Regions from separate parts of the Homo sapiens genome. Here regions 2, 3, 4 and 5 are each linked to region 1. The links are contacts of gene promoters, found by promoter capture Hi-C in human tissues and cell types (Jung and others, 2019). All regions are on one chromosome and are shown on one strand. Each heading gives the region's core, a stretch centred on a gene start or on the middle of the fragment in contact. The rest is flanking DNA. Distances are from core to core; before and after follow the strand shown.

Region 1 (4,957 bases), core at 2,458-4,957:
GCACCATGATATAAATGTGTGTTAATGAATGAATGAATGAAATTTGTCTGAGAGAACCATTCATTCTAACCAACATTTATGGAGTAACTACTTTGAAAAGAACCATTCTGTCTTTACTATCAAGCCAAGATACTCAAGGAAGGCAGCAGAAGTGGAAGCTCCATGTGGGCAGAGGAGCCTAGTCTTGAGATGTGATTTAGCTGGTATTTGGGTGAAACAAATAAACCAGCCTCAAAATAACACAAGGGGCCGGGTGCAGTGGCTCACGCCTGTATCCCAGCACTTTGGGAGGCTCGAGGCAGGCAGATTACTTCAGGTGAGGAGTTCGAGACCAGCCTGGCTAACATGGTGAACCTCCATCTCTACTAAAAATACAAAAACTAGCTGGGCATGGTGATGGGTGCCTGTAATCCCAGTTACTCGGGAGGCTGAGGCAGGAGAATTGCTTGAGCCTGGGAGGCAGAGGTTGCAGTGAGCTGAGATTCTGCCACTGCACTCCAGCCTGGGTGACAGAGCGAGACTCCGTCGAAAAGAAAAAAAGAAAGAAAGAAAAAAAACACACAAGGATGTGCAACTGATGCAGGGCAGGTGAGCCCAGAATTGGGCTTAGCTCAGGAGGGTTCTTGGTTTTGCTCAGGAAAGAATTTAAGAGCTACCTGGTAGAAGAAAAGCTCTACTGATATGGCAACAGCTCCCTGAGTGCCCCTGTAGAGCAGAGCTACCCTATAGGCAGTGTGCTGACAGCAGTAGCTTAAAGGCAGGTCTGCAGTGATATTTATAACCTACTTTCAATTACATGCAAATTAAGGGGCAGATTATGCAGAAATGTCTAGAAAAAGGGTGGTAACTTCCGGTTGTCGGCTCACTGCCATGGAAAGGGGCAGTAAGCTCTGGATGTTGCCATGACAATCGTAAACTGACATGGCACACTGGTGGGCACGTCTTATGGAAAACTACTTCTGCCCCATCCTTGTTTTGACTACTCCTCAATTTGGTCCCATGTCAGAGCCCTGCCTCCAGAGTCAAGCCCTGTCTACCTCACAATTATTATGTATCAGGTTTTTAAAAAATAACACAAGTAAGGCTGGGCATGGTGGCTCACGCCTTTAATCCCAGCACTTTGGGAGGCCGAGGTGGGCAGATCACTTCAGATCAGAAGTCTGAGACAAGCCTGACCAACATGGTGAAACCCTGTCTCTCCTAAAAATGCAAAAAAAAAAAAAAAGAAAAAAAAATTAGCTGGGCATGGTGGCAGGCGCCTATAGTTCCAGCTACTTGGGAGGCTGAGGCAGAATTGCTTGAACCCATGCAGCGGAGTTTGCAGTGAGCTGAGCACCACTGCACTGCAGCCTGAGGGACAGAGCAAGATTCCACCTCAAAAAAAAAAAAAAAAAAAAAAAAGGAAAAAGAATAACACAAGGAAATTAAACACAGATAACGTGCATCTGGATAATCTGGAATATTTTCAGCCTGGGATCTTCCTCGTGCTCGGAAACGTGTAGGGAAACGTGTAGGGACAGTTTTCAGCTGGTGTGGGGTGGGGGAATGCCAACATATGGTTGGCTTTCCACAGTCCTGCTAAAGCCCTGCAATGTGCAGAACAAACCGGTCCAGCTAAGAAAAGTCCCACCCAAAATGCTGAGAGCACCTCTGTACTCAATCAACCGTTGAGGTAAAAGGATGCTTGCAAGTACAACACATGTATCAGTGCATTTTAAACTCATTATAAAATCGTTCTGTAAACCAAAAATAAAATTCTACGCCCAGAACCATCTGAAAAGACCACTCCTCTGGGTCAAAGGCATTCCAAATTTAACCACAAAAACTAGTTCAGGCCATGATGGGAAGGGGAGCCAGACATGCCTCATTATTCCCTCCTCCGTTTGGAATTTAGGCACAGCTGACCAGCATTGACATCAACACAGGCCTCAAGACAGGTAGAACACACTCTTTAAGTCTGACAAGAAACATTTACAATCTATCTCTCTAAAGCCTGCTACCTGGAGGTTTAATCTGCATGATGAATCCATGGTCTCCACAACCCCTTATCTTAACCCAGATATTCCTTTCTATTCATTCAAATCTTTTTTTTTTTTTTCCCCATACGGCTCTGTCACCCAGACTGGAGTGCAGTGGCGCTTTCTCAGCTACTGCAAGCAACCTCCGCCTCCTGGGTTCAAGCGATTCTCCTACCTCAGCCTCCTGAGTACCTGGGGTTACAGGCGTGTGCCACCTCGCCCCACTAATTTTTGTATTTTCAGTAGAGAGGGTTTCACTATGTTGGCCAGGATGGTCTCAATCTCCTGACCTCGTGATCTGCCCGCCTCGACCTCCCAAGTGCTGGGATTACAGGCGTGAGCCACCGCGCCCAGCCCTCTATTGATTCCAGATCTTTAGATAACAATTCTTTCAACCAAATGTATAAAAAATCAAGTTGTAGCCCAACCACCTTGGGGACATGTTCTCAGGATCTGCTGAGGGCTCTATCACCGGCCATTGGTCACTCATATTTGGCTCAGAATAAATTTCTTCAGATATTTTACAGAGTTTAACTCTTTTCATCAACAGTTCCCACTCCCCAGTGTTAATGTTATAAACAATTCAGTAAAACTGGGAAATGTGGTCTATTAAAAACTTGGGGCCGAGTGCGGTGGCTCACGCCTGTAATCCCAGCACTTTGGGAGGCCAATGTGGGTGGATCACCTGAGGTCAGGAGTTTGAGACCAGCCTGGCTAACATGGCGAAACCCCGTCTCTACTAAACATGAAAAAAAAAAATTAGCCGGGCGTGGTGGCGGCGCCTGTAGTCCCAGCTACGCGAGAGGCTGAGGCAGCAGAATTGCTTGAACCCAGGAGGCGGAGGTTGCAGTGAGCCGAGATCGCACCATTGCACTCCAGCCTGGGTGAGAGAGCGAGACTCTGTCTCAAAAAAAAAAAAAAAAGACCGCCAGGGCTCAAACAAAAAACCTCGGAAAAGCCCTGGCGGTCTTTTTTTTTTTTTTTTTTTTTTTTTTGGGACAGTCTTGCTCTGTCGCCCAGGCTGGAGTACAATGGTCGGATCTTGGCTCACTGCAACCTCTGCCTCCCAGGTTCAAGCAATTCTTCTGCCTCAGCCTCCCAAGTAGCCACCACGCCCAGCTAATTTTTGTACTTTTAGTAGAGACGGGGGTTTCACCATGTTGTCCAGGCTGGTCTTGAACTCCTGACCTCAGGTGATCCACCCGCCTCGGCCCCCCAAAGTACTAGGATTACAGGCGTGAGCCACCGCGTCCAGCGCCCTGGCGGTTTTTAATCAAGTAGAAAAGCTGCATTATACCACTTGCTTCGGTTGCTTCAGTGAGAACGAAGAAATGGAAATGCAAATCCCTTATTAGTTGTAGGAAACAGATCTCAAACAGCAGTTTTGTTGACAAGACCGCAGGAAAACGTGGGAACTGTGCTGCTGGCTTAGAGAAGGCGCGGTCGACCAGACGGTTCCCAAAGGGCGCAGTCCTTCCCAGCCACCGCACCTGCATCCAGGTTCCCGGGTTTCCTAAGACTCTCAGCTGTGGCCCTGGGCTCCGTTCTGTGCCACACCCGTGGCTCCTGCGTTTCCCCCTGGCGCACGCTCTCTAGAGCGGGGGCCGCCGCGACCCCGCCGAGCAGGAAGAGGCGGAGCGCGGGACGGCCGCGGGAAAAGGCGCGCGGAAGGGGTCCTGCCACCGCGCCACTTGGCCTGCCTCCGTCCCGCCGCGCCACTTGGCCTGCCTCCGTCCCGCCGCGCCACTTCGCCTGCCTCCGTCCCCCGCCCGCCGCGCCATGCCTGTGGCCGGCTCGGAGCTGCCGCGCCGGCCCTTGCCCCCCGCCGCACAGGAGCGGGACGCCGAGCCGCGTCCGCCGCACGGGGAGCTGCAGTACCTGGGGCAGATCCAACACATCCTCCGCTGCGGCGTCAGGAAGGACGACCGCACGGGCACCGGCACCCTGTCGGTATTCGGCATGCAGGCGCGCTACAGCCTGAGAGGTGACGCCGCGGGCCCCTGCGGGACGGGTGGCGGGAAGGAGGGAGGCGCGGCTGGGGAGAGCGCTCGGGAGCTGCCGGGCGCTGCGGACCCCGTTTAGTCCTAACCTCAATCCTGCGAGGGAGGGGACGCATCGTCCTCCTCGCCTTACAGACGCCGAAACGGAGGGTCCCATTAGGGACGTGACTGGCGCGGGCAACACACACAGCAGCGACAGCCGGGAGGTAAGCCGCGTCCCAGCGGCTCCGCGGCCGGGCTCGCAGTCGCCCCAGTGATGCCGTGGCCCCCGAGGCGGGCGTCATCGGGCAGCGTTTGCCCAGTGCTGGAGGGTTAGGGAGAGCTGCCTGGGCTTGACCGCGCGCCGGTCTCAAAGTCCTGGCTTTGGCCCCTCCTCCGTTTTCCCCTGTGGACCATTCCGCTTCGCAGCGTTTTCAAAAACTGGAGCGAAAGTGATGTGGGCGGGGCAAAGGCGGCGGGAAGAGGAGAGCACTGAAGCTGGCGCGGGAACTTGGTTTCCTGGTGGCCTCCCATCCAATCCCCACGAACCAGCTTTCCTCTTAAACCTTGAAAAGAGAAATTCGGGAGTTCGAGTATAAGTTCTTAGTCGTCCTTTCCTCTTTCCTTTCCGACAGGAGCACCCCAGGCAAAAAATGTCTCGCGGGTCATTGGCGCCAGGCTTTCAGGGGACAGTGGGGCGGGGCGGGGTGGGCACAGGACGTTAGGCAGCCGTTGGCCCTCCCTAAGGCCACACCGTCCTGCCGTCCTGGATCCTGCGCCAGCTGCGCGGGGGAGGGGACTCGAAGGTGTGTGAGCCAGGGGCTGACCTTGACCGCTCAGATAAATGGAGCGCAGCCTTGACACAGGGGTGGAGGTGGTTTTGAATGGGGAAACCCATTCGTGGTGAAGCAGATTCACTGTAGCTAGCGGAAAAGCCCTCCGGCCCACGGACCCATCTAG
Region 2 (4,957 bases), core at 1,525-4,024, 510 kb before region 1:
GATTACAGGCATGCGCCACCACTCCCGACTAATTTTGTATCTTTAGTAGAGATGGGGTTTCTCCACGTTGGTCAGGTTGGTCTCAAATTCCCAACCTCAGGTGATCCACCAGCCTGGGACTCCTAAAATGCTGGGATTACAGGCGTGAGCCACCGTGCCCAGCTATTGATAACTCTTTCGACCAACTGGCAATCAGAATTTTTAAATCTACCTATGATCTGGAAGGCTCTCCCCACCACTCCGAGTTGCCCCACCCTTCCTCCCTTCCAGATCGAACCAGCGTATATCCTACATGTATTGACTGAGGTATTATGTCTCCCTAAAATGTATAAAAACACACTGTACCCATACACCTTGGGCACATGTCGTCAGGACCTCCTGAGGGTGTGTCTTGGGAGTGTCCTTAACCTTAGCAAAATAAACTTTCTGAATTGATTGGGACCTGTCTCAGATACCTTTGGTTCACAACAGGGAGCCTAACAATGGGGAGATCACAGAGTCTCACCTAAACTCTGCCCCGCCATCAAGCTCACCTGATCATTAGTAAGCCTGGGACCATCAGATGCTGTGCGCCTCCTCATCCAATGCAACGTGAAGCACACAGCATCATTCTTGGAGTATTTCTGTAAAAAAAGGCTTAGCTAGAATGTAATCAAGTCTCTACAGCTAATTTCTCTTACAAGAAATACAGGGAAAATCAAGGTAAATGGTGCCACAAAGCAGCAAACCAACAACTCCAGGATATGGGACATTTCATATTATGGAATGGCTTACCTGGCTTTTCTAAAAGTTAATGGCATGAAAATAACGTAGTGAGGTTAAAGAAAGGCAGCAGCCGCTGGGTGCGATGGCTCACGCCTGTAATCCCAGCACTTTGGGAGGCCGAGGTGGGCGGATCACTTGAGGCCAGGAGTTGGAGACCAGCCTGGCCAATATGGTGAAACCCTATCTCTACTAAAAATAAAAAAAAAATTAGCTGGGCGTGGTGGTGCGAGCCTATAATCCCAGCTACTCCGGAGGCTGAGGAAGGAGAATCGCTTGAACCTGGGAGGTGGAGGTTGCAGTGAACCAAGATCGCACCATTGCACTCCAGCTTGGATAACACTCTGTCCAAAAAAAAAAAGAGAGAGAGGCCGCAGCTTTATTTCAAAAGGAACTTAAGAGGCATAACAAATGTAATCTATGGATCTCATTTGGATCCTAACTCTAAGAAATAAACTATAATCAACAAATAAAAACAAACAAGAAAACCAGCAAAAAAACCCCACCATTTTAAAAACAACTGGGGAAGTTGACTATGGTCTACAAAATAGATAATACCAAGAAAATATTGTTAATTTTGTTAGGTAAGATAATGATATTATAGCTATATAAGAAAATAATTCCTATACTTTTAGGGATGGTTAATAGAGGTTCTTAAGCAAAGAAAAAGGGGGAAAGAATAGATGAGACAAATAGGCAAAACTTGAATTTTGTTAAATCTTGATATGGGAATACAGAGGTTCATTGTACTATCCACTATGCAACTGGCATAATGATTTTATTCTAGGTGAATTTTCTTTTATGTAAAAGTCTTTAAAAGATGAAAATTAGGCTGGGGAATTATTGTTTGAAATTTACAAAGATTAAAAACCGTAACTCTAAATGCAAGGCATGATCTTGGATTGGATCCTGGACTAGAAAAAAAATTACTAGAAAGGACATTTTGCAAAAATGTCCTTTGAATAAAGTCTATAGATTAGGTAATAGTGTTATTGTATTATGGTGAATATCCTGATTTTGGTAGTTGTCCTATGGTTATACAAGTGAATGTTCTTGTTCTTACGGAATAACACTGATTTATTTAGAGCTAAATATACATCATATCTGCAACTTACTCTCAAATGATTAACACAAATGTCATGAGTGTCTATATATAGATTTATATCTATGTATCTATAACTATATATTATATATATATATATATATACACACACATATATAGCAACTATGGTGAAATGTTAGTGAAGGGTAAACAAGAGTTCCTGGTATTACTCTTGCAAATTTACTGTAATTTTGAAATTACTTCAAATAATAAGTTAAAAAATAGTAATGACAAAAATATTAGTTTAAAGGGATCATATTCTTTTCAAAAAGACCAATAAATTATGAAAAGAAAACAAAAATATTACACAAGACAGGACAATTATAAAAAAGAACCAATAAGCAATCTTGGAAGTGTAAAATATAATCATTAAAATATAAAACAATAGACGGGAAAACCGGCTGACTGGACAGAGAGAGAATTAATGATTTGGAAGAGAGTACTGAGAATTCAAACATAATTTACCACAGAGATAAAGAGATAAAAGAATATGAGAGACCAGGTAAGACAAATGAAGGATGTAGAATCTTCAACAGGCCAGGCGAGGTGGCTCACACCTATAATCCCAGCACTTTGGGAGGCCAAGGTGGGCAGATTGCTTGAGCCCAGGAGTTTGAGACCAGCCTGGGCAATATGGTGAAACCCCGTCTCTACAAAAAATACAAAAATTAGCCAGGCATGGTGGCGCATACCTATAATCCCAACTACTTGGGAGGCTGAGGTGGGAGGATCACCTGAGTCTGGGAGGTTGAGGCTGCAGTGAGCAGAGAATTGTATCACTGCACTCCAGCCTGGGTGACACAGTGAGACCCTGTCTCAAAAAAAAAAAAAAAAGAAAGAAAGAAAGAAAAGAGAAGCTTCAATAAAAACCCACTTGTAAGATGACAGCAAGAATAAAAAATTTTGTTAATTTTTAAAAATATGAATTATAAGAGAAAATTTTGGCTGGGTATGGTGGCTCATGCCTGTAATCCCAGCACTTTGGGAGGCTGAGGCAGGAGGATTGCTTGAGCTCAGGAGTTCCAGACCAGTCTGGATAACATGGTGGAACCCTGTCTCTACTAAATAAATAAATAATTAAAAGAAATTTTTATTTTTTAAAAAAACAATGGTAGTTTCAAAACAGAGAATAAGCAGCATCCAAAAACCTAAGTCTCAGCTCAAAACTTCACTCCTAGTACTGAGATGGATAAATTAAATACACAGCTGAACACGCTACATGAAACTGCAGAATATTAAGAACAAAGAGAAAATTCTAAGAGTTATTAGAGAGAGAAGACCTTATCTACAAGGTAACAACAAATTAAACTTAACAAAAAAAGTTTCATCAGCAATAGTAAATGACAGAAGACAACGAAATTTCTTCAAAGTGCTCAGGAAAATTACTGCCAATCTATTAATCTCTACTCAGCTAACCGATCAGCAAGAACAAGATTGAAATAAAGATATTTGCAGACATACACAGAATAAGTGAGGCTATCTAGTACTTATGCAAGAGAGCGCTTCACCTACCTACCCTGACTGAAAGTACTGTTAATATAGCTAATGTTAATAATATGGTGAAAGAATTCGTTCCTCTCGGCAGCAACGTCTTCAGCAGGTCTCATTGCCAGAAATCACTCCGTTGCCCAGCCCTCTGGGGCTTCCATCACTTTTGTCCATTTCTTCTTAATTTTTTATTTATTTATTTATTTATTTATTTATTTATTTTTATTTATTTATTTTTTTTTTTTGAGACGGAGTCTCGCTCTGTCGCCCAGGCTGGACTGCAGTGGCGCGATCTCGGCTCACTGCAAGCTCCGCCCCCCGGGTTCACGTCATTCTCCTGCGTCAGCCTCCCGAGTAGCTGGGACTACAGGCGCCCGCCATCACGCCCGGCTAATTTTTTTTTGTATTTTTAGTAGAGACGGGATTTCACCGTGTTAGCCAGGATGGTCTCGATCTCCTGACCTCGTGATCCGCCCGCCTCGGCCTCCCAAAGTGCTGGGATTACAGGCGTGAGCCACCGTGACCGGCCTCTTCTTAATTCTATAATGTTCTTAGTTTCTGTTGTTGAAAATCTTTCACTATATAAGTAATGGTGTAGCTGAAAGACATCGGAAGTGAAGGAAATAAAAAGGGAAGGGAAGGCTAAAAATTCTAATTTTCTTATCTTATATAACAGCAGTCAGGAAACACTCTAAGGTCAATGAACAGTGCAGTGAGGCCGGGCGCGGTGGCTCACGCCTGTAATCCCAGCACTTTGGGAGGCCAAGGCAGGCAGATCACGAGGTCAGGAGATCGAGACCATTCTGGCTAACACGGTGAAATCCCGTCTCTACTAAAAATACAAAAAAAAAAAAAAATTAGCCAGGCGCATTGGCGGGCACCTGTAGTCCCAGCTACTCGGGAGGCTGAGGCAGGAGAATGGCGTGAACCCGGGAGGCGGAGCTTGCAGTGAGCAGAGCTCGCGCCACTACATCCAGCCTGGGTAACAGAGCGAGACTCAGCCTCAAAAAAAAAAAAAAAAAAAAAAAAAGCTGGGTGTGGTGGTGCACACCTATAGTCCCAGGTACTCAAGAGGCTGAAGTGGAAGGATCACCCGAGCCCAGAAGGTCAAGGCTGCAGTGAGCTGTGATCACGCTCGGCAAGAAAGTGAGACCCTGTCTCAAAAAAAAAAAAAAAAAGAAAGAAAAAAAAAGTAAAAGTAACCAACAAAATAACTACAACCTAATTATTAAAAATTGGGAACCAGGCATGGTAGCTCATACCTATAATCCTAGCACTTTGGAAGGATGAAACAGGCAGATCATTTGGATCAGGAGTTCAAGACCAGCCTGGGCAACATAGTTAGATCCCCTCTCTACAAAAAGTGAAAATAAAAAAATTAGCTGGACATGATGGCACGTGCCTGAGGTCCCAGCTACTTGGGAAGCTGAGGCAGGAGGATCACTTAAGCCCAGGAGTTCAAGCCTGTGGTGATCCAGGATCCGGCCACTGCACTCCAGCCTAGGTGACAGAGTGAGACCCTGTCTCTAACCAAAAAATAAAATAAAATAAAATTGAGAAGAAAGAGGAAGAAGGGGAGGCAAAATACAGCATAACTGACCCACA
Region 3 (4,957 bases), core at 1,147-3,646, 350 kb before region 1:
TACATTCCATTGACAGGTATACCACAGTTAGTTTATCCATTCACCTATTGAAAAACATATTGTTGTTTCCAGTTTTTGGCATTATGAATAAAGCTGCTACAAACATTCATGCCTATAACCGTTTTTTCATTATCTATATCCTGACTCTGTAAGACGTGGATGTCCATGTCCTGTTTACTTTAAACCAGGTTTTCCATCCTGCTAGCTCCATCATTAATAACATGTACCCATTGTATATGTGTAGGAAAATATGTTTTTTAAAATTATTTTTAGAGATGGGGACTCACTGTGTTGCTCACACTGGTCTCGGACTCTTGGCCTCAACCCATCTTCCTGCCTCAACCTCCTCCTGAGAGCCGGGATTACGGGTGCAAGCCACCATGCCTGGCATGAAAATTATGTTTTTAACTTTTTGACAATCATGACTTGATGTGCTACTTTTATAAAATGCCTCTGCTTCTAGGATGATGTAAATATTGCTTTTGTGACACAGGGCACATGCCACGTGACGTGACTTCAGGCTCGCTGCTAACCTCATTTCCATAGGCAGGAAACTTGATGTGGCCTTGGGCTGGGTGTGGACTTCTAACACTGAGCCAAAGGAACATTTCTGACCAGTGGTGCTATTTTTGGTGACGTCTTACAAGAGTGGTTTTGAAGGTACCACTTTGCTTTTAAAGCTAATTAAGATGATTCTGTGTGCCCTGAAACGGTAGGTCACATTATGACTCCCAATTATATTATTATTATATTGTAAGGAGAGTGGGAAAATAGTGGAATGGAGATAGGACTAGGTTTAGGGCTCTGCTACCCAGCAGCAAGTCCATTAACACTCTGAGCCCCAGGGTCCTCATTTTGTAAAGTAGAAGCATAATAGCAACATAATAATAATAGGACTGATAAAATATCTTAATCCATAGAGGTATTTGGCCCTAAATAGATAAAATTATATGTGTGAAATAGTTTCTTTCTTTCTTTTTTTTTTTTTGAGGTGGAGTTTTACTCTTGTCACTCAGGCTGGAGTGCAGTGGTGCGATCTCAGCTCACTGCAACCTCCACCTCCCAGGTTCAAGCAATTCCCCTGCCTCAGCCTCCCGAGTAGCTGGGATTACAGGCACGTGCCGCTACACCCAGCTAATTTTGCATTTTTAGTAGAGACAGGGTTTCACCATGTTGGCCAGGCTGGTCTCGAACTCCTGACCTCAAGTGATCCACCCGCCTTGGCCTCCCAAAGTGCTGGGATTACAAGCATGAGCCACCACACCCAGCTCTGTGAAATAATTTCTAAGCACTATAGAAGAATAAATTATATGTCTACTGTAAGTATTGGCAAACTTTTTCTGCAAAGGGACAGATAGTGAATATTTTCAGCTTTGCAGGCCATTATGGTTTCTGTTGCAACTATTCAGCTCTGCCATTGTAGTTCAAAAGCAGCCATAGACAGTACACAATGAACACAGCTGTGTTCCAATAAAACTTTATTTATAAAAACAGACAGTGGGCTGTATTTGGCCTGTGGACTGTAGGATGATGATCCCCAGTCTAGTATGAGCATGGAAAGAAATAACCTTTCTCTTGAGATTTCTTCCAAATACAGTGCTAGGGAGGACATTTAATAATTTAGCCACTGTATTGATTCGCAGACTACAAAGTCCCTAGGTGGGATTAAGGAGTTGCTCGTCAGCCCAACTCTTTTTTTTTTTTTTTTTTTTTAGACAGAGTCTTGCTGGTGTCACTCAGGCTGGAGTGCAGTGGTGAGAACACTGTTCATTGCAGCCTCGACCTGCTGGGCTCAAGCAATCTTCATGCCTTAGCCTCCCTTGTAGCTGGGCCCATAGTTGTGCACCACCACAACCAGCTAATTTTTTTAAGTTTAATTTTTGGTAGCGGTGGAGTCTCACCTTGTTGCCCAGGCTGGTCTCAAACTCCTCAGCCCAACTCTTTAAAAAACACAGCTTCTTCCTTGCTCTCTTCTCAGGGTCTCATCTTTCCTATGGGTGGAGCTAACCTCCTCTTTAAGGAGCGGCCACTCTTTTGTCTATCCATAAAACTGCTCAGCCATTCATCTGGGCCATATTATTAGGTGTCTGGGCTGACTAAAAGCTGTTATTTCCTAAGCTGCACCAGGGACTTGAAAGATAGAATGACAAGGAAAGGAAGGAAACCAAGACTGCAGCTTGCATTTTAGGAGCCAGATGCTGTGCTAGGTGCTTTTCCTACATTAATGAAATGAAATTTGCAAGAATTCTGTGAGACAGGTATTAGTACATTCATTTTATATTTAGTACATGTATTTAATTTTACAGTTAGCCCATTCAGCTTCTCGTATATGTCAGTTTCTTGAGTACTGACTTCCCAATTTCCACAGGGAGCAGAAAATTTAATTTCATCAATTCAAAGTAACTCAGTCCCTTCTGGATCTAAATATGATTCCTACAGTTTCAAACTCAATTAATGCAAGATCTTCCTTCTCCCCCTCCTTCCCCTCCCCTAGGATGTTCTAGGTTTCTAGGAGGTTGGCATGTGTATCATCCTGCGATGAGAGGCGTTCAGCTGCACGCTGACCTCTGCCTTTGCTGAGTTCTGTTGAGAGCTGTCTTTTCTGGTCCTCATGGTCCTCTTGGGTTTCCTATCATGTTTGTGAAGATCACACACTCTTCTTATCTCTAGCCCTGGCTTCTTTGGTATTGTGGCTTGTGTTCAGTCACTTTCCTGTTCCTTGAGGGGCTCACAGGCACCTTTGGCTTATGGTTCTGTGAGACTGCCCTGAAGTTCATCTGACCAGGGCACTCCCTCAGCCATTGCCGGGTGTCTTAGTCCATTCGGGGTGCTGCTATAACAAACTGCTATAAACTGAGTGGCCTGTAAACAAGACATTTATTTCTCACATTTCTGGAGGCTGGGAAGTGAAGAACCAAGATGCTGGCAGATTTAGTATCTGGTGAGGGCCTGCTTCCTAGTTCATAGATGGCTCCTGCTTGCCGTGTCCTCACAGGGCACAGAGAGAGAAAGAGAGAGAGAGACAGAGAGAGAGAGAGAAAGTTAGCCCCGCTCATGTCTCTTCTTATAAGGGTGCTAATCCCATTCATAAGAGCTCCACTCCATACCTAATCACCTCCCAAAAACCCCATCTCCTAATACCATCACCCTAGGGGCCAGGATTTCCTCATATGAATTTGGGGGGGATATAAGCACTTAGACCAGAGCACTAGGCTACCACTCTGCAGCCATCTGGGATGCGAGCCTTCTCCATAAGACTTGAATTCTCCTGAGCTGCTCTGTGGGGAGCCAGGCAATGCTGTCTCTGGCCCTGGAGACAGTCTAAGGGTATCTGGGGTTTCTCTTTTATTTTCTAAATAAGTGGCATCAGTTTGCAAGCCCTCCCCAGCTGTGTAAGTGGTTTTGAGCAGTCTCTGCTGTCTTACCCCAGGAGGGCTAGCTGCTGTCTTTGTCTTGGATGACAGATTTTTTTTTTTCTTTCTGGAACTGCCTCCTAAATGCCCTGCGATAGCCAAGTTTCCAAGGAAAACGGCCACACAGAGCTCTGTCCACACAAGTGACTCACTGATGTGCCTCATGCCACCTCTAGGCTCTCCTGAGTTTTGCACGGCTTTATAGTCTCATACTAACTACATAAGGAGCTGAGACAGGGCTGGGCAGAGGGCAGAGTGGCTGCCATCAGTCATGCGACTGGAACCAGTGTGTCTGACAAAAGACGACAATGTCACGCATACTCTCAAACAGCAGCTCTGCCAAGAATGGCGCATCCTTGGCTGGGAGAGGCAGCCTGTCACCTTCTCCTGTGGTGACAAACCCTTGGTTGTTTGTTTCATTTCTTCTAGAAACAAATATGACAAGCTTGAGATCAGATTAAATATAGATCAGTTTAGGATTCTGTTTGTTTATTTGTTTTCTTTTTTTCTTTCTTTTTTTTTTTTTTTGAGAAGGAGTCTCGCTCTGTTGCCCAGGCTGGAGTGCAGTGGCGCGATCTCGACTCACTGCAAGCTCCGCCTCCTGGGTTCACGCCATTCTCCTGCCTCAGCCTCTTGAGTTGCTGGGACTACAGGTGCCCGCCACCACGCCTGGCTAATTTTTTTGTATTTTTAGTAGAGACGGGGTTTCACCATGTTAGCCAGGATGGTCTCAATCTCCTGACCTCATGATCCACTCACCTCGGCCTCCCAAAATGCTGGGATTACAGGCGTGAGCCACCGCACCCGGCCAGGATTCTGTTTGTTTTTTAATTCAATCCGATTCCTATTTATTGGGTGCATTTCATGTATAAGGCGCTGGGCCAGGTGATGAAAAAATGTAAAATAGTCCTTTTCTGCAGATGAAGGATGAGAAGGGAAAAAAAGTAAGAAAAGAAAGAGACCTAGCTACAGCCTCAAGAGATGCCTATTGCCTTGTGAGGGGAGGGGTAGACAAATACTCCGGGAACTCAAAAATCCCGGCAGAGGGTCAGTGCCTTCAGAGGAACAAAGGACGCATGAGAGAGTTTAAAAAGTTGTTCTGGTTGGTGTCTTCATGGAGGATGTAGCATTGAGGCAGAATTTGTAAGGAGGGCCAGATTTCATTGGGTGGAGGTGTGGATGAGGGGTATTCCACCTGAGGAAGCCAATCAGGGATATAGAAATTCCGGAATTCTTGGCCCTCTACAGACCCCAGACCACCTGCTATTAGAAGGAGGTCCCAGTTTGTTCCCCTGCTTTTTTTTTTTTTTCTCCAGGACTGTCTGAAACTTCAGTTATTGTATGAAGTTCCCAGCTCCCTTGAGTATGGAAATACACAAAAAGTGCTTTTCTGGGAAAATGGAGAATAGCTGGCCTTGGGAATGTGAAAGGAAATTAAATTTGGGGACCCCAAAATCATTTAGCGAAAGGGAAAAGTCGAGCTGGGAAGTGGGTCACACACACCTGCCTCCTCCTTCTGGTTCCTAAACAAGATGGCTACAAGA
Region 4 (4,957 bases), core at 1,038-3,537, 340 kb before region 1:
CTAGGAGTTTTTATTAGTACCATTATTGTTTTCTTTGGCTCCATGTATTATGTCGGTAAAATGACAAAAAAAAAAAAAGGAAAAAAATTGTAAAAGACAAATATTTTGTACAAAAATACAAAGTTTTAAAAGCTCTTTAAGTATATTTCATATTATTACTAATAGTTGGCCTATATATCTGTATGTCTGCATATTTTTCCTACACTTGGGATTTTAGAAATGTATGGCACTGTTTACACAGTATATGCTTAAGTTCTTCCCATAACTCAACGACCAATGATAACCTTTTTCTGATTGGAGTGTTCCATACTTTGGAAGACATAATTTGTATAATCGCACGGTTACTGACGGAGGAGAATCTATGTGATTCAGTCCATGTGCACAATGAAAATCAGCATATCACCCTGGGGAACATTTTAGTTCCCAAGTCTTTGGGTAATGACGGATGGTAAAAAACACTAGCTGTCAATTTTTTTTCAGTAATTGGTTTTCAGTGCTTTTTTTTTTTCAATCTGATGAGAAGGTGATGCAATTAGAAAGGAGTGTCCTTTGCCTTTGAGAGCTGAAAATTTGCTCATGTGATCCCATCACAGTCCGTTATAATGCAGATGACAGTACTAAAAGAGAGAAATAAGAATGGGCATTAGTTTTTCTTAAATAATAAAGTTAATGTGCAATTCAAAAAAAGGGAACGTGTATTTTTATAGGACAGTGTCTAAAATACATCATTCAACAATGCTTATATTTTCAAAGAAATGTCTAGAAGATCTTATTTGGATGAAAAGATAAGTTTCATTTTGAAAAGCCAAGTTTCATTTTGAAAAGCCTATTCTGGGAAAGCCTGGTCCCTACTCAAATCCCAAATGGCCAAACAAAGCATACAAAAGACAAATCTGAGTTACTTGTCACCATCAATTATAATCCCTTGTTTAGATATCTGTGTTTTTCCCCCTCAACTGACCCAGCTGTGAGTTCCTATGTGTCTTAAGGTCCCTAGCACTTGGACCAATGCCTGACACATCAAAGGTGCTCAGTAACTGTCTGTTGAATGGCAATACGGATAATTTATGCCCCAGTTACTTCCAAAAATAGTTTGACCAAAATATATTTGAGGTTTTTGTTTTTATATGAACAGCTTTATTGAAATATAATTGACAAATTGTATAATTCACCCATTTAAAGCATATAATTCAGTGGTCTTTGGTATAGTCACAAAGTTATGCAATTTAGAACCAATCTAATCTAATTTTAGAACATTTCCATCACCCCAAAAAGAAACCCCATACCCATTAGCATTCATTCCCCATTTCCTCTGTCCCCTATCACAAACTTTTAATCTCATTCTGGTGAAGAAAACTAAGATGCCACATTCCAAAGAGGGTCGTGTGTTAAATGAAGCTTTAGATACATAGCCTTTGAAGTCAAGAAAATCTCCAAAAGCTGCTTTGGCTTATGAGCTGATAAGCAGCACAGACCATCTCCCTCTATTATGTATCACAGGATCTGGCCTATAGTAGATGCTCAATAGATACACGTGGAATTGAACGCTTGGCCACCTGGATTAGCTGTGTATGGATGTCTACGGAAAAGAACTAACATTGGTGCTATATCTCTTTTCTTTTTTGAGATGGAGTTTCGCTGTTGTTTCCCAGGCTGGAGTGCAATGGTGCGATCTCGGCTCCCCACAACCTCTGCCTCCTGGGTTCAAGCTATTCTCCTGCCTCAGCCTCCTGAGTAGCTGGGATTACAGGCATGCGCCACCATGCCCGGCTAATTTTGTATTTTTAGTAGAGATGGGGTTTCTCCGTGTTGGCCAGACTGGTCTCAAACTCCCAACATCAGGTGATCTGCCCGCCTCCACCTCCCAAAGTGCTGGGATTACAGGCGTGAGCCACCGTGCCTGGCTGGTGCTATATTTTAAAGAACAATTAACTCACAATATAAGATACTTATGTGGGTCAGTTAGTTTAGCATTCGTTGAGTACTTCCTACATGTGAGGCACATTTATTAACTTATTTAAATCTTCACAACCTCGTGAAGAAGATGCTATTACTATTTCCCTGAGGTTAATCACCTGCCCAGTTAATAAATGGCATAACCAGGGCTGAAACCTAATTGCAGTGCCTGCATTCAGGGCCCTTGTACTCACCACCCCTCACCCTTTCATAGGACATAAGCTGGCAGCTCCCTCTTAAATCCCATCTACTGCTCACCTGTCTCCCTGTCTTTTTCGCAAATGAAGTTATTGACGTCTTCACATTGGAAATCGTTCCACTGCCCAGCATAAATCAACCCAGCACAGTCTTCTCCTGGCCCATGGCCATGACCCCAGTTATCCGGCTGTCCAGCTTTCCAATTTCTTTTAGCAAAACAGAAATTGAATGTTATTTGCACAGTAATGCAGAGCTTTTCTTTACTCAAGAGCAGCAGAGAATATAAAAAAACAAAATTGAAGCATGTCATTTATCCTGGAATGAAAATGCAGTTTAAAAATCAGTACATGCTCTTATTCAGAGAAAGGAGCAGCTGTTTTGCAGAGTAATGCATAATGCGGCATCTCCCTGCGCGCTTGTGATCTTTGCTACCATGAACCAAACTCACTAGGCTGGTTCATCAGAATGCAGAGGGAGCGAATCTTGCTTTGGGACAGTTAGATGAATAACTTTCTAATGTGTACTGGAATGCTGACTTCTGGGCATGAGTGTATATATGTGTGTGAATATCTATTCATTATGAGGACATGATACACACACACACACACACACACGCACACATGATCTTGTGAGAACCCAGAGGGACCTTGTACATTTCAATATCTTGCCTCTAACAAGTCCAAGAGCCAGGAAGAGAAAGTGAAAGACTTTTGATATACATTTACAAGAACCTACAATTACAAATAACTGGTTATGATTGTCTGGGTGAGTTGTAGAAGGTTGATTGCTTTAGAAAGAAATAGTAACTTAATCTTACTGAAAATGACTCCTACATTTCACTCCCTTTTTTGGGAGAGAGATTCTTAAAAACAAGTTTTCTTTAGGATGAGTTCACATGGGGCTTCTTAACTTGGATGCTGCTGCTCAGAACAGCACCTTGCCATGGATAACAGTTCTTGATTACGTTTCCACGAATAAATCAGGTGTGCTTCCAGACTCACCCCTTGAAGGTTCAATCTTGTCTAAGAAGCAGATTCATGCACAGAAGCTTGTGGCTGCTGCCTGAGAGGACAAGCCTGCCTCATGTGGAGGGTCTGGAAGAACATCTGCAGCGGAGGGTGCTTCCTATAAACAATGACTCATTACCGCACTGGCCACAGGGTGTCCTCGGGTCACCCGAGGAGACAGCCTGTATGGCCCTGTATCTTTGGACAATAACACCCGCAAAACCAGAGGCAGCGGGAAAGGACAGTTGAAGTTTAGTCAAAGGGTGGGGACAGGGTAGAACTGACTCCCCCACACCAAATGTGTATTTTGGGATTTAAAAAAAATGAGTATGAAGGCCGGGCGTAGTGGCTCATGCCTGTAATCCCAGCGTTTTGGGGGGCTGAGGCAGATGGATCACCTGAGGTCAGGAGTTCGAGACCAGCCTGGCCAACATGGCGAAACCCTGTCTCTACTAAAAATACAAAAATTAGCTGGGCATGGTGGCAGGCACCTGTAGTCCCAGCTACTTGGGAGGCTGAAGCAGGAGAATTGCTTGAATCCAGGAGGTGGAGGTTTGCAGTGAGCCAAGATCATGCCACTGCACTCCAGCCTGGGTGACAGAGCGAGGCTCCATCTCAAAAATACATATATATATATACATTGAGTGGCCTCAATTAAATAAACCTAGTGATGAAAGAGAATTCAGAGGAAACCATCGATTGGTGAGAGTAAAAATGGGATGCTACTTAGAAGGGAGAGTTAGAAAATAGTCTCACTCACTCACTCACACCAGGCATCCATAGCACTCCTGCTATGAGCCAGGTATCATCTGGGTGATGGCAACATAGCAGTGCAGAGAAGAGACAAAGTCCCAACTCTTACAGCTTACATAACAGATGAGTCACAATGAGTTCAAAATCTCAGCCTGTGACAATCTCAGCCTGACGCCAGATAGAGATGAAGTTGGAAAGAAAAGTAGTTTACTTTCACATTTGGTTTTTTGTGTAACTCTTTTCACCTTGTGAGATTCTTCTGGAGATGTCAACAATGCCTGAGCAGTTTAATCTTGTGGACATACATTTCGTTCATTTCTGCCAGTAATATGGGGGGTTTGATTCCATTTTTGTTTATAAAATTTGAGATCTATGATTCCTGAATGTATAATGATAGGATATTTGATATTCTTGACTTCTCAGTTAATTGGGAAATTATATAAATATGACTTCTTTGGGCTTAGAAGTCCTGCTTAATATTTTCCCCTTGCGTTTCCTTTTAAGTCATTTTAAGTTAAATAAATAAAAAGGATGTATCAACCAGGCAGAGAAATAACTGAGTGATAAGAAAGGAGATAATCTTTATCGCCTTTCTCCATTTGTTTTTCCAGGTCACTGGAATTCTTCACATACAGTACTCAAGGCTTTCCTTAGGACTAAAAGCAGAATGCAGTTCTGTGGCCATAAGCGGAGGTGACTGCAGTAGGCCAGAATGGGTGGAAAGTGGGTAGCCTGAAGCCAGACTGAAGGGACAATTTATTCTGTGGGCTGACCACCCAGAGTCTCAAAGCATCTCTTTGGCAAAGCTAAAATCACATGGAGTGATTTGTGGCAAAACCCCTCAGTCTGCATGTTTATAATAATATAGAACGTAACGTGTCAAATAAGCAAAATGTATATATTTTGGAGAAGAATGTCAGCTTAAATAGTGCTTAACCTCATTCACAGGTAGATTCTGGCAAGATGAATGGCTGAAGTCTGGGGCTCAAAGCCCTGAATTCTACATTATCATACACATGTCACAGAAGTGAGCGGTAGCAGCA
Region 5 (4,957 bases), core at 1,647-4,146, 260 kb after region 1:
CAATCTTACAGACCTTGTGAGAAAGTTAAAGTGTCCAATTGAGATATTTACCTGGACATCCAGTGAATACTAAAAATCTTTGCAATTATCCCTCAGTATCCACATGGAATTGATTCCAGGACCCCTGCAGAACCCAAAATCTGTGGATGCTCAAGTCCTTGATATAAATGGTGTGGCATTTGCATGTAACCTGTGCATATCCTCCTGTATACTTTATCTATCTATCTATCTATCTATCTATCTATCTATCTATCTATCTATCTATCTATCATCTATCTATCTATCTATCTGAGACAGAGTCTCACTCTGCTGCCCAGGCTGGAGGGCAGTGGTGCAATCTCAGTTCACTGCAACCTCTGCCTCCCAGGTTCAAGTGATTCTTGTGTCTCAGCCTCCCAAGTAGCTGAGACTACAGGCATGTGCCACCACACCTGGCTAATTTTTGTATTTTTGGTAGAGACAGGTCTCACCATGTTGGCCAGGCTGGTCTAAGTGATCCGCCCACCTCAGCCTCCCAAAGTGCTGGGATTACAGGTGTGAGCCACTGTGTCTGGCCTTTTAAATTATCTCTATATTACTTAGAATACTTAATACAATGTAAATGCTGTGTAAAAGTCATTATTGTTTAGGGATTAATGACGAGAAAAAAGTCTGTACATGTTCATACACATGTAATTTTTTGGAATATTTCCATTTGCAGTTGGTTGAATTCACAGATGCAGAACCCATGGATATGGAGGCCGATTATATGTTCCCAGATGAGAATATTATCCACATTTATTCCTCCTCTTTTTTTTTGGCATCATATCCACCACACTTCTTAACCGATGTATTGCAGAGTGCCCTTCCTTTTCCTCCCCATTACTCCATTCATTTAATTGGTCACAAAATCTTAGGATTTTTCAATCCTATTTTCTGCAGAACTCCACATTCACATAATCTTTTGGCTGTTTTTGCAATAGCCTCTCAAACTTGGCTCTAGTGACTCCCCCCGGTTCAGTCTTCTCTGCCTCCGGACAGATCTAAAATAAGACTCTGGTCATGCTACTACCCTATGCTGGCTTGATAAATGTTTATGCCTTCCTGTGGCCTACTGGATGAAGTCCAAAGTCTTTAGCATGTATTTAGCAGTTCTCTTCACTCTAGTTTCCTGCTCTTATCTATCACCTTTTGTTTGTGGTCCCCTGTCTCTAGAATAGTGCTCTATCCCTTTGCCCTCCTAGTGAAATGCTACTGATCTTTCAGGGAAGAACCAGCTCCTTTCTCTGTTTTTCTGCTGCATTTCTTCATATTCCTAGTTTAGCATGTAGCTGCATGCATGTATTTTGCTGATGGGAAGAGGACCATAATTATTCAACTTCCTATTCTTAGAGCCTGTAGTATTTGGCACGTAATGGGCACTAAATCACTATTTGTTGAATTGAAATTAATTCTATGAAAGTTGGCAAGTAGTTCTCTACCACACAGACAACATGAAAAAATATGATTTATATAATTTAAGGTATAGCATAGAAAGATTTTTTTTTTTTTGAGACACCATTTCACTTTGGAGTGCAGTGGCGCGATCCTGTCTTACTGCAACTTCTGCCTCCCGGGTTCAAGTGATTCTCGTACTTCAACCTCCCAAGTAGCTGGGATTACAGGCATGTGCCACTGTGCCCGGCTAATTTTTGTGTTATTAGTAGAGACGGGGTTTCACCATGTTGGCCAGGCCGGTCTCGAACTCCTGACCTCAGGTGATCCACCCATCTTGGCCTCCCAAAGTGCTAGGATTACAGGCATGAGCCACCATGCCCAGCCACATAGAAAGATTTTGATTAGATATTAGGAAGGATTTGGGCTACAACAAAAACTTGTTGAACGATTAAGTCAAAGCATACTCCTTTGAATACTGAAAATGTTTGCTGAGGTTGTCTCAGTTTTGAAGGACTGCTTTCCATTCCATTTTTCTTGTTATCTTCTGATCTAAACCGGTGATAAATTTTATGCTGTCCGATGACAGGCAGGAATGGTAACAGAACTTGCAGATAATAGGTTGCTTACCAAAAGTTATAGATTGACCAAATGAATTTGTTTTCTAAGAAAATGGAGGGCATTAATATAAAACTCAAATTCCTTGGAGTTACTCAAAGCCCTCAAGTATATTTGTCCTTGTCCATTGCCATGGATGTTTCCAAAATGTAAGCTTTGATGAGAAGTGGTAAAGAAAATAAGGCATTCAAACAACAGACATGAGACTCTTGAGTGGCAGGAAATTTTCCATCTCACTTGTAGGTGCAGATGTTCTTGGATTATCCCCTGCTAGGATCTCTTCTGGCTAGTCCACTTTGAGTGTAAACAGGGTTCATCAGGGAAAGGTAGTCTGATTTATTTATTCTCATAAACTTTCTTACATGTGCAAGCCAGATGATTGGTCATGGAGTGAGCTGGGGAAAGAAATGATGCTCTTAGCATAATTAGATAGAACCTGTCTTGGGAGTATGATTTTGTAGGGGGCACATCTTGCCTACACAACTTTTGTAATTATGTAAGGAGCTGATGATCCCATTATCAGACTCTTCTGATCATAAGTTTATTTAATTGTGCTTCAATTAGAGAGAAGGAAGGAGAAGAAACAAAAATGCAAGCCAGTTCAATCTGCTGATTCCTAGGCATCCTGGTGGAAGAGCTGATGAAAAAGGAGATATGAAACTACCAAAGGAAGGCCTCTAGATTTTTCATAAATTAATGAGTGCATATTATCAGTAATGGAGAGAGGATCTTTGTTTTTCCTTTTTGTCTTTGGAGACAGGGTCCAGGGTCTTACTCTGTTGCCCAAGCTGGAGTGCACTGGCATGATCGTGGCTCACTGAAGCCTTGACATCCCAGGCTCAAGTGATCTTCCCACCTCAGCCTCCTGAATAGCTGGGACTACAGGCATATGCCACCATGGCCAGCTACGTTTGCTTATTTTTTGTAGAGAGGAGGTCTCACTATGTTGCCCAGTCTTGTCTCGAACTCCTGGGCTCAAGCAATCCTCCTGCCTGTGCCTCTCAAAATACTGGGTTTATAATCATGAACCAACACACCTGGTGCAGGATCCTGTCTTTTCTTATGGGATCTTTGTTTGAGGTGTAGTAAGCAAGAACCTCTCTCTCTCTCTTTTTAATAGGTTAAAGTTGACAATTAGTGTTAATGAGTAGTTTATATCGCTGACATTACTATAAAAGGCATCCTACTATGAGATTAAAAAAAAACTTAGACAAACTGAGGGAGTAAGGATTTGTCTGATTATACCTTGAAATAAATATATTTTTAAGTTATTCTTAATAAATTATCTCTGTATAGATTATAGTCATTTAGACCAGACTTAACTTTCCATTTTCATTTAAGTTGTCTAAAAACTACATTCAACTTTATTGCCTGGTTGTTGCAAGGATACTTAATTCAAGTCTCTGAAAGCATCTGTTTTTTCCGATTCCTTCTGATGATCCTGAAAAATTCCTTTAGCGAACTGAGCTGGAGGCTTGGCAAAAAAGAACATTCATCGCTTACATTTTCTAGAAGTCACCATTACTATGATAAGCACAAAGGATCCATTTTTAGTGAAGAATATCAGGAGACAGCAGGCTAGTGCTAGAGGAAATTTGATGAGCATGGTTTTCCAGGTCTTCCCAATTCCTTGAGGGAGACGGGCTTGGGTGGGTAGCAATGGTAATTTGCCTGCCCACAGGTACATCTTGGGTCCTGTTGGGTAGAGGGAAGCCCAAAGTAAGGGATTTCCAAATCTCTTTTACCCTCAATTACAATGCCCCAACCCCGCAGCTTAATTTCTTTATATGGTTACAAAAGCAGCCTTTAGCAAACCACCTGTGTCTAACATCTTGACATATTTTCTTATTTCATAACATTTGCTCCATCTTGCGCAGATTATATAATAATGGTTGGACACCAGAAATTTCCAGTCACACAGAATGAACGATGTATGTGTGTAAACAGACACAGTTAGTTCTGGGAAGGACTAGCTACATAATTTGTGGAGCCCAGTACAAAATGAAAATTTAAAAAAATTATTAAGAATTTCTAGATAGCAACAGCAGAGTATTAAACCAAGTGTGTGCCTGTTCTGAGCATAGCGTATGGTTCATACACCCATGAAGCTGGCTCTGGTTCTAGATTTAGGGATGCTGAGCATAGCAGACCCAGCCTGAGTCTGCACCAGAACCCTGTTTTCATTTGTTCTTACTCTATCCTCATTGCGTGTGTGTAATATTTTTTTGACATGCACATAATTTTACAGTCAATTCAGTCTGCGATTTACAATGCAGTAGAGAATAATCAGGTTTAAAAATTTGTGTTTAAAAACATAACATGAGATCTACCCTCAACAAATTTTTAAGTGTACCGTATGTGCAGTGTTGTTTACTATAAGCGCAATGTTGTACAGCAGATCTATAGAACTTTTTCATCTTGCATAACTGAAACTTTCTACCTTTTGAACACCTCCCCATTTTGCCATCCGCTCAGGCCCTGGCAACCACTGTCCTTTCTGCTTTGGTGGATTCGACTACTTTAGATACCTCATAGAAGTGGACTCGCATGGTATTTGTCCTTTTGGGTCTGGCTTATCTCACTTATCATAATGTCTTTAAGGCTCATCCCTGCTCTAGCACATGATTTTCTTCTTTTTCATGGCTGAATAATATTTCATTGCACGTATATGTCACGTACTCTTTATCAATTGATCTGTTGATGGGCATATCAACAGATGGTTGTTTCCGTATTTTGGCTATTGTGAATAGCGTTTCAATGGACATGAAAATGCAGGTATCTCTTATCTTCATGTGTTTTTAATAGGTCTGTATCTCACAAATAGTAGTCCATCCTTTTGGCAATATAATTCAATTATTAAATGAATATAATCAGATTTATGGTTTTACAGACTCCTCTCTATTAAAATGTCCACCTTAGGTTACCT

The links. Contacts are between HindIII fragments. The study calls those that stand out against the background at their distance.
Region 2: a contact is called between a fragment that was not itself captured here and the fragment with the promoter of TYMS in region 1, in 1 of the 25 tissues and cell types used here (lymphoblastoid cells).
Region 3: a fragment that was not itself captured here is called in contact with the fragment with the promoter of TYMS in region 1 in 1 of the 25 tissues and cell types used here (dorsolateral prefrontal cortex).
Region 4: a fragment that was not itself captured here is called in contact with the fragment with the promoter of TYMS in region 1 in 5 of the 25 tissues and cell types used here (bladder, dorsolateral prefrontal cortex, hippocampus and 2 more).
Region 5: a contact is called between a fragment that was not itself captured here and the fragment with the promoter of TYMS in region 1, in 1 of the 25 tissues and cell types used here (mesenchymal stem cells).

The regions. Positions count from the first base shown.
Region 1 is chr18:653,946-658,902 of GRCh38, forward strand. It overlaps TYMS (thymidylate synthetase), which reads left to right and starts at 3,708. Exons shown (of 7, transcript NM_001071.4): 1 at 3,708-4,002. The coding sequence starts at 3,798. It overlaps TYMSOS (TYMS opposite strand RNA), which reads right to left and starts at 4,346. Exons shown (of 2, transcript NR_171001.1): 1 at 3,897-4,346. RefSeq lists enhancers at 3,432-3,933, 3,934-4,433, 4,301-4,420 and silencers at 3,671-3,850, 4,021-4,070. The HindIII fragment of the contact is 10,369 bases long and covers 1-4,957 here.
Region 2 is chr18:143,285-148,241 of GRCh38, forward strand. No RefSeq gene overlaps it. Among named protein-coding and RNA genes, the nearest start is that of USP14, 13 kb to the right of the region's middle. The HindIII fragment of the contact is 5,775 bases long and covers 1-4,957 here.
Region 3 is chr18:301,751-306,707 of GRCh38, forward strand. No RefSeq gene overlaps it. Among named protein-coding and RNA genes, the nearest start is that of THOC1, 36 kb to the left of the region's middle. The HindIII fragment of the contact is 5,392 bases long and covers 1-4,957 here.
Region 4 is chr18:319,448-324,404 of GRCh38, forward strand. COLEC12 (collectin subfamily member 12) reads right to left here. Exons shown (of 10, transcript NM_130386.3): 9 at 2,215-2,360; 10 at 1-617. The coding sequence ends at 598. Among named protein-coding and RNA genes, the nearest start is that of THOC1, 54 kb to the left of the region's middle. The HindIII fragment of the contact is 5,241 bases long and covers 1-4,908 here.
Region 5 is chr18:918,178-923,134 of GRCh38, forward strand. No RefSeq gene overlaps it. Among named protein-coding and RNA genes, the nearest start is that of LINC01904, 7.3 kb to the right of the region's middle. The HindIII fragment of the contact is 4,777 bases long and covers 509-4,957 here.